Regions from separate parts of the Homo sapiens genome. Here region 2 is linked to region 1. The links are contacts of gene promoters, found by promoter capture Hi-C in blood cells and fetal thymus (Javierre and others, 2016). All regions are on one chromosome and are shown on one strand. The core of a region is centred on a gene start or on the middle of the fragment in contact, and the rest is flanking DNA. Distances in the headings are between cores, read along the strand shown. Region 1 holds the start of ADGRA3 (adhesion G protein-coupled receptor A3). Region 2 has its middle 44 kb from the start of ADGRA3.

Region 1 (4,140 bases), core at 610-3,109:
AGGCACCAGTGTGCCTGCTAAGGTTATTTATAGATCCGAAGTCACTTAATGGTGCAGATAATCTCCCACTTTTTCTTCCCATCATAGTGTCTGGGCTTATGTTGTTCAACACCAACAGGGTAGCCACTGGGCATTTAAATTCAAATGTAAATTAATTAAAATGAAATGAAAAATTTAATTCTTATTGCACACTATCTACATTCCACACACTATGTAGCCACAGTTGGCCACCATATTAGACAGCAAAGAACTAGAACAGCTATACAATCACAGAATGTATTATTAGACAGCACTGGACATGGTTGGGTTGGTCAAATGAACTGCTATTCAAATTTAATACAACACTGATAAATGATAAATGGAGACCATTTATTTACTTCCCATTGAGAAAGCTCTAGCCAGATAAACAGATTCCTGCAAATTGGTCCCTAAGATAAATTTTGTAGGGGCCAGAGGCAGTAGTGTCCTTAGACCCAAGCAAGAAAAACCGTGTTCTAGGCCCTCCATTTTAGAGGACACCAACCTGACTCTTCTTATGGGGTGAAAAATCTCCAGGCCAGCACCCAAAGCCTGGGTACCCACTATGTCCCCAAGACCCAGGACCCTGGAATTCCCTGACTGGTATTACCAAAGCCACTTCTTGGCCCTGAGCTAGCTTCTTCTGAGAACTGTCCTCCCAATGAAGGACCCAACAACTGGTATAGGCACACCTGAGATCCAGACGCAGACAGAGGGTGGCTGTTAGAAAGTGTGAACAGAACTTGGTTTTGTGGGCTGCGGTGTTCACACACAGGTACAAAAAATCCCCTCTTGTCCTTGAAGATAGCTGGGCACAGGAAGCAAAGACGGTGAAGGTGTACAGGCCAAAGGTTTGGATCTGACTCTTTCCCACCTGCCATGTTTCAGGGAGAAACTCCAAGGTGTCTGAGAATCCTGCTTACAAACCTTCCAGGTTGTTATGAAGGTAATTTCTCAAGGCAGGAGCACAGAATATATTTTATTAGCATGATATAGTCCTTGTAAAATTTTAAACATAGGGTAGGTAAGCCCTGGGCTTGCAAATGTTAGGGCGAGGCTGGAAGTCAGAGTAATCAATTCTGTTGGGGTTTCTTGGAGGGTTTGCTCATTATTGCTCGAACTGGTGAACATCTCAAGTATCTTTGCCTGTCGAATTTCTTTCAAAAGGCTGCCTTTCTAGTGAGGTCCAGATGCATCCTTTAGAGACCATCGCTGTTGTTGCTGAAGGCCAGAAACAGCTTCAGATTGTTCACTGTATTGAAGAGGAACCTGTTTACTGGCTCCAGTGTATTTGGGACAAATAAGACTACCATAATGAGGTGAGAAGGCGATTCCTTCCGAAACACTTGGTTTTGGGTACTTTTCCCATAGGGTTGGTCAGGGAAATTCCCTACTCTCGTCCCTACTCCATCCTCCGGGCCAGGCTCCTTGGGCCACATGGGCAGTCTCCAGGAGCGCACAAGACTGCTTTGTCCTGTGCCCGCGGTGCGAGCGCGGTGGCGGCGAAGGGAAACGAGCAGGAGAGTGGCCACCGCGGGTGGAGTTTGGACTCGAACTTTCCTCCGTTCGGACTCGAACTTTCCTCCGTTCTCTCTACGAGTTACTGCCTTCCCGCGGGCTCCCCACAACTCCTGCCCGGAGGCCGAGGCCCGGGCGCGCACCGGGTCGGAGTCGGGCTCGGCAGGTCCCGGGAGCGCGCGCCTCCTCCCCGAGGTCCCGGGCAGCTGCAGACACGGGGAGAGCAGGAGAGCCGGGAAAGAGGAGGGGAAGGGGCGGGGGCGGCCGCCGGCGGCGGGCGGGGAGGAGCCGCCGCGCGCGGGTCCTGGCCAGGGGAGGAGGCAGTGGCGGCGGCGGCGGCGGCAGAGGAGGAGGAGGAGGCGGTGCTCGCGCCGGGCGGTAGAGCGGCGCTGGGACCCATGCGGCCGTGACCCCCGGCTCCCTAGAGGCCCAGCGCAGCCGCAGCGGACAAAGGAGCATGTCCGCGCCGGGGAAGGCCCGTCCTCCGGCCGCCATAAGGCTCCGGTCGCCGCTGGGCCCGCGCCGCGCTCCTGCCCGCCCGGGCTCCGGGGCGGCCCGCTAGGCCAGTGCGCCGCCGCTCGCCCCGCAGGCCCCGGCCCGCAGCATGGAGCCACCCGGACGCCGGCGGGGCCGCGCGCAGCCGCCGCTGTTGCTGCCGCTCTCGCTGTTAGCGCTGCTCGCGCTGCTGGGAGGCGGCGGCGGCGGCGGCGCCGCGGCGCTGCCCGCCGGCTGCAAGCACGATGGGCGGCCCCGAGGGGCTGGCAGGGCGGCGGGCGCCGCCGAGGGCAAGGTGGTGTGCAGCAGCCTGGAACTCGCGCAGGTCCTGCCCCCAGATACTCTGCCCAACCGCACGGTCACCCTGTGAGTATCTCCCGCGACGCTGGGTCCTCTCCCGCTCGGCTCTTTCTTATCTCTCCGCTCAACTTTGGAGCAGGGTCCAGCCGGCACCCACGCGCCTTTGTGTGGAGCTGTAGGCAGGGGGCGGTGCTAGGAAAGACCTCGTGTGCTTGGCATGGGTGCAGTTCAGGGAAAGGCAAGGGAATCTGCGTCCGAGCTGCCTCCCAGCTCCACTAGTTTGCAAAGTAAAGTTTTCGGGTTCTCAGGCGCTCCCCGCGCTGTCCCCGGCGCAGCGCTTTTGGGCTGCGCGGTGCCACGTGAGGATGCAAGTAAACACGCAGTCAACAGAGTTAAAGCTCATTCATCCTGGGCTTGGGTTTCCAGAAAACACAATGCTTGATTGCAAGCGCCAGTCCTTCTGCTTCTTTGCAAATTAAGTTACACTTACGTGGTAGAGTTTGCAAAACACAAGGACTGTGTGCGAGCCCAAACCCCAAGACGCTTCCTTTGCCTTTTGCTATCTTAGTTTTATTACAGTTAAAGAGCACCTTTTAAGATAGAGTTGTTATTAAGGGCTGGAAACATTTCAGATCAATCTGTTTATGTACCTTGCAGTCCCGTTTTCGTGTCTGTGAGGGCTTATATTTAAAAGCCAGGAACATTGGAACTGAAAACCGTGGGTTTATTGAGCCTTCCAACTCGAGGGATTTTTGATTTTCGGATTGAGTTTCCACCTGGAAGGAAAAATTTTGGTAACTCACTTGTGCTGGGATTCACGGTTCAGTTTTGCAAACGTAGTTTTGCCAATTCTAGCTGAACAGTTGGCCCCAGTGACTGTCGAGTTTGTTTTCAGAAGGATGAATTGGTTTGGAAAGTTTTGAGTCTAAGTGTTTCTCATGGGTATTTTGTTCAACTGAAATGTGAGTCCCTTGGCTCGGGGTTCCTCTATGTTGTTTTGGTTGGTTTCCTAAAAAAAGAATCAAGGCAGCCACTATACAAACATGAATGCAAGGACCGCAGCATGATCTATGAAAACACTTAAAGTATGGTTTTAAATGTAACCCAAATTCAGCAGGAGTATACACAGGTAGGCCAGGTATACATTTCATTACTAACACTTTTGTTTACCTTCATTTCCATTTTTTGAATTAGGAAACGTTTAACCATGAAAATTGTGTCTATGTGTCTATTTATGGAGGCATGAAGATGGATGAAAGAGTTTTTGTTTTATTTGACTCCGTTACTAACACGTTACCATGTGGTGGTGGCAGCAGTTATATTTATTTATTTCTTAGTCAGATTCTTTGAAGTGGAAATTTTCGGTATGGGACTTTAATTACAGTCCAAATGGAGAAAATCCCAATGTTGGAGGAGATTTTCTTTGTTACTCTGCAAAAATTAGTCATCATGCAGTTATGTTATAAACATTTAGGTTTTGGGTCAATGAGTGACATTTACGTTGACTCATGTTTAGGTCCAGTTTTTCTGACCTAAAAGTGTCCACAATTTCAGCTGGATTAGGTCAACTACTAGTAAATTGTTGATTTTGCGTTGCAGAAAAAAATAGGGGATATGGTGGTAAATTGATTTTCAGCATATTACCAATTAAACTATTTTTCTACAATTTTTAGAAACTGGTTAAAATATAAGTAACTATGAAATGTCATTTCAATCCAGTTTTTTTTTTTTTTTTTTTTTTTTTTTTTGCCTGAAAGCTTTTTAGATGAAAATAAAGTTAAGGTTGGGCATGGTGGGCTCACACCTGTA
Region 2 (4,140 bases), core at 1,179-3,678, 44 kb before region 1:
GCCTGACCAACATGGTAAAACCGCATCTCTACTAAAAATATAAAAATTAGCCAGGCATGGTGGCAGGTGCCTGTAATCTCCTTGAACCCAGGAGGTGGAGAGGAGATCATGCCACTGCACTCCAGCCTGGACAACAGAGCAAGACTCCATCTCAAAAACAAACAAACAAACAAACAAAAACCTCTTAGCAGGTTTGGTTTCTCTTAAGGCCTCTCTCCCTGGCTTGCAGATCACCACCTTCTGACTGTGTCCTCACATGGCTTTCTTTCTGTGTATACACATATCTAGGACCTTTTTAAGGCCATCAGTAATATTGCATTAGGGCCCCAGACTTATGACATTATTGAACTTTAATTATCACTCTAAAGGCTGTAACTCCAAATACAATTCCACTGGACTTCAGGACTTTAACATATAGAGATGGAAATCTAAGCTCAGAAAGCTGGGTTTATAATGCCAGAGCAAAACAAATTTCCAAACTCGTGGAAAAAATAGCCCCCCAAAAAATCCCTAATTCAGATCTCAATGCTAGAGTAGCTAATTCTTGTTATATAAAAGAAAATATTATAAGCATACAATAAATATGCACTAAAACTTAATGTTTGGGGTCCATCAGAATATATGAAAAGCATCCTTGCTCTATTTACAACATTGTGTTCTTATGCAGATGAAAAATAATCAGCTAATACATATTGAATATCGTATGTCTTCCTTCATCTTTCATTCTCCAGCAAGAAGCACTGATTTCTAACTAGACACTCTGCTGTGCATACAAGAAGAAAAAAAAAGAAAAGAAAGAAAAATTAATTTCATGGTCTACAAGATTTATTGCACTAAAAATTTAAGTCAAATTGTAAGCTTAAAAGATATAATAAGATTCATAAACCTATTATTACCCTGAGTTATTGCCCTGAAGCCTCAAATTTTACTATTTAAAAATCTGTGAGGAATGAGGAATATTTTCAAAAACAACCTTAATTTGTTTATAATTTTTAATGTATATGTTGTATATATCCTAGATTTACTCATTGTTTTGCAAATTATCCATTTATGCATTCCTAATATGTGCAAGCCCTGAAGACTGATATTAGCTCTCTGATCTTTGTGAACCTCTGAAAATGTCATTTTCAATGGAGATTTTCTTTTAAATAAATGTATAATTTCTGTTATGACCAGGTAATGCCATTGCTTAAGAGTGACAAGATAAAAACAACTTTTAATGTATCTATTAAAAGCAAAGCTTGGGAATACATTATTTCAAAGTCATTTCAAGAAGCTACTAACTACAATTTTTAAATTAAGTAAATTTACATAGTCTAACGTATTTTCATTTCTTAAAAGAGTTATATTTTAAAAAATGGACTCGAGAATATCAGGCTTTGGACAACCATTTAAATTAATGTTCCATAAATCACAATTAATCTTATTTAGAAGATTAGCCCATATAATTAGTTTACATACACATTATTAGAACAATAAAAAGCTCTCAGTTATGTAGTTGTTCATAATTGGAATATTAAGTTACTGCCCTAGTTTTTTAAATTTCCAAACAAGTTGTCTAATAATTATTTGGTATTTACTCAGCTTATGTTTGCATTGCAAAACTTGGATTTCTACTTGCAAAGCTCAAACATGATTTGTTTAATGGGAGGAAGAAGATAAAACATTTAGGTAAATGTCAGTATAGTTGAATATGTAAATTGTGGAAATAGATGCAAAAGATTTGAATCCTTCTGACAGCACCCTAAAACGTAAAATGGAAAAAAAAAATCGTATCATCTTAAAAGCATTATCCATGCAGAACAGAGACTTATTAGAATTTTGTTTGAATCTGACTTTAAAATCTATGGTAATTCTAAACCATTTGTCTCTGACAGTCATATCACCAGTGAAGAATTAATCTATCAGAGTTGCTGTCTCTTTCTCTTCTTTCTCTACTTTGTCTACTGCTCTTGTTCATTCTGTCTCTCCCACCTTTTCACTTTCCTTTCCTTTTTCTTTCTTTCTCTCCCAATACAACAAAAGTTTACTTACTCAAACCACAGCGAATACACCTGACATCCCCTAGAATTCCATTATTTTAAGCGTTTTCTTCGTAGAATTATCTTTCCTAACCATAATAAAGAATAATGGGTGTTAGAATATGTGACAGTTAGTTCTTATCCAGACTGTTTCTAGCATCAAACAAAAAATTTCCAATATGCAAAAATTAGTATTTTACCTTATTTCATTAATAAGAATTAAATACTGTAAATATGGAAATATCATTTTCAAGTTTGTTATTTTAAAGCTTCTTTCAAGGGTTTACCTGGAAGCTACAGAAAATAATTTGATTCACTTCTCAAAGGGTACCTGTTTGGGTTGAATTCATATGTTGAAGTCCTAACCTTGAGGAACTCAGAAAGTGGCCTTATTTGAAGACAGAGTCTTTATGGAGACAGTCAAGTTAAAATGAAGTCATTAAAGTGAGCTCTAATCCAACATCCTCTGGTGTCCTCATAAAAAGGAGAATTTGGGCACAGAAAACACCATGTGAAGCTGGAGACAGATATGGAGTGAAGCTTCTGTAAGCTGAAGAATACCAAAGATAGCCTGCAAACCACCAGCAGATAAGGAAGAGGCATGAAACAGATTCTTTCTCACAACCCTGAGAAGGAACCTACCCTGTTAGCATCTTGATCTCAGACTTTTGACCTCCAGAAATGTGAGACAATACATTTCTTTTGTTTAAGCCACTCAGTTTGTGGTACTTTGCTATAGCAGCCTTAGCAAACTAATGCAGTAGGCCAACTTTTGTGTGATTTCTATTTTTAACTTTGGGGCTTATAATTCTCATCATGTTTTCATATGAGTTGAAAATTTCACTGCTACATGAGTAAAAGAAAATGAAAATGGGAACACAAGTAGGAAAGTAAATCTCAATTCACAGTTGGAATATTAAGGTATATCCAGTCTTCAGATTGAAAAACCTCAAAAATCCAAGCATCATAGAATTGGTTCCACAACGTTATAACAAGCTATCTGGCATTATTAATATATTTCAGCATTATGTGTCAAAAGAGCACTGATTCATAATTTTAAAACAAGATTTGCCTCAGAATGCAAAGTTAACGAAACATCCAAAAGTTAATTAACGTACTACACCATCCACATGAATACAATAAAGGACAAGATTATCTCCACAGAGGTAGGAAAAGCATTGACAAAACCAACAACATTTTGATAAAGAGTATCCACAAACTAGGAATAGAGAGAAACCTTCTCAACTTAAAGGGCATCTACAAAAAAACACAGCTACCATCATACTTACCGTTGGAGGATTGAATGCTAACACTCACACTTCTCAAATTCAAACTTACTACAAAGCTATAGTCATCAAGACGGTGTGGTAATATAACAGTAGACACATAAGTTCTTGGAATAGAATAGAGAGTCCAGAAATAAATACCCATATTTACGGTCAATTGATTTTCGACAAGGGTGCCAAGACAATTCAATGGGCAGTAAGAAGTGTTATGAATCAATGATGCTGGTAAAACTAGATATCTACATATAAAGAATAAAGTTGGAATCATTTCTCACAGTATACACAAAAATTAGTCCAAAAAGGACCATAATCCTAATATAAGAGCTAAAATTATAAAACACTTAGAAGAACATATAGGCATAAATCTTCATGACTGTGGGTTATGCAAAGCCTGTTAGATATGACACCAAAATTATAAATAACAAAAGAAAAAATAAGTTATATTGTATAAGTCAGGGTTATCCAAAGAATCAGAACCAACAGGATGCATGTAGAAAGAGATTAATTATAGTGAATTGGCCGACATGATTATGGAAGCTGAGAAGTTTCAAGATCTGCAGTTCCCAAGCTGAAAACCCAGGAGAGTCATTGGTATAAATTCCAGTCTGAAAACCAGCAAGCTTGAGTCTCAAGAAAGCTGATGTTCCAGTTCAAGTGCAAAGGCAGGAAAAGACCAACATCATTGCTCAATCAGCCAGGGAGGAGAGGTGGGTCCCCTCTTAGAATCAGCCAGTTTGTTTTAGTTTGGCCTTCAGCTGATTGAGCGAGGGTCCCCCCACATTAGGGAGGGCAATCTGTTTTACTCGGTCTATAAATTCAAATATAAATCTCAT

What was found. Contacts are between HindIII fragments. The CHiCAGO score rates a contact against its expected background, and 5 or more counts as called.
Region 2: a contact is called between a fragment that was not itself captured here and the fragment with the promoter of ADGRA3 in region 1, in 1 of 17 cell types (fetal thymus). The highest score is 5.4, in fetal thymus.

What each region holds. Positions count from the first base shown.
Region 1 is chr4:22,513,785-22,517,924 of GRCh38, reverse strand. It overlaps ADGRA3 (adhesion G protein-coupled receptor A3), which reads left to right and starts at 1,859. Exons shown (of 19, transcript NM_145290.4): 1 at 1,859-2,397. The coding sequence starts at 2,141. MIR12115 (microRNA 12115) reads right to left here and starts at 2,613; the gene lies at 2,540-2,613. The HindIII fragment of the contact is 8,309 bases long and covers 1-4,090 here.
Region 2 is chr4:22,558,430-22,562,569 of GRCh38, reverse strand. No RefSeq gene overlaps it. Among named protein-coding and RNA genes, the nearest start is that of ADGRA3, 44 kb to the right of the region's middle. The HindIII fragment of the contact is 271 bases long and covers 2,293-2,563 here.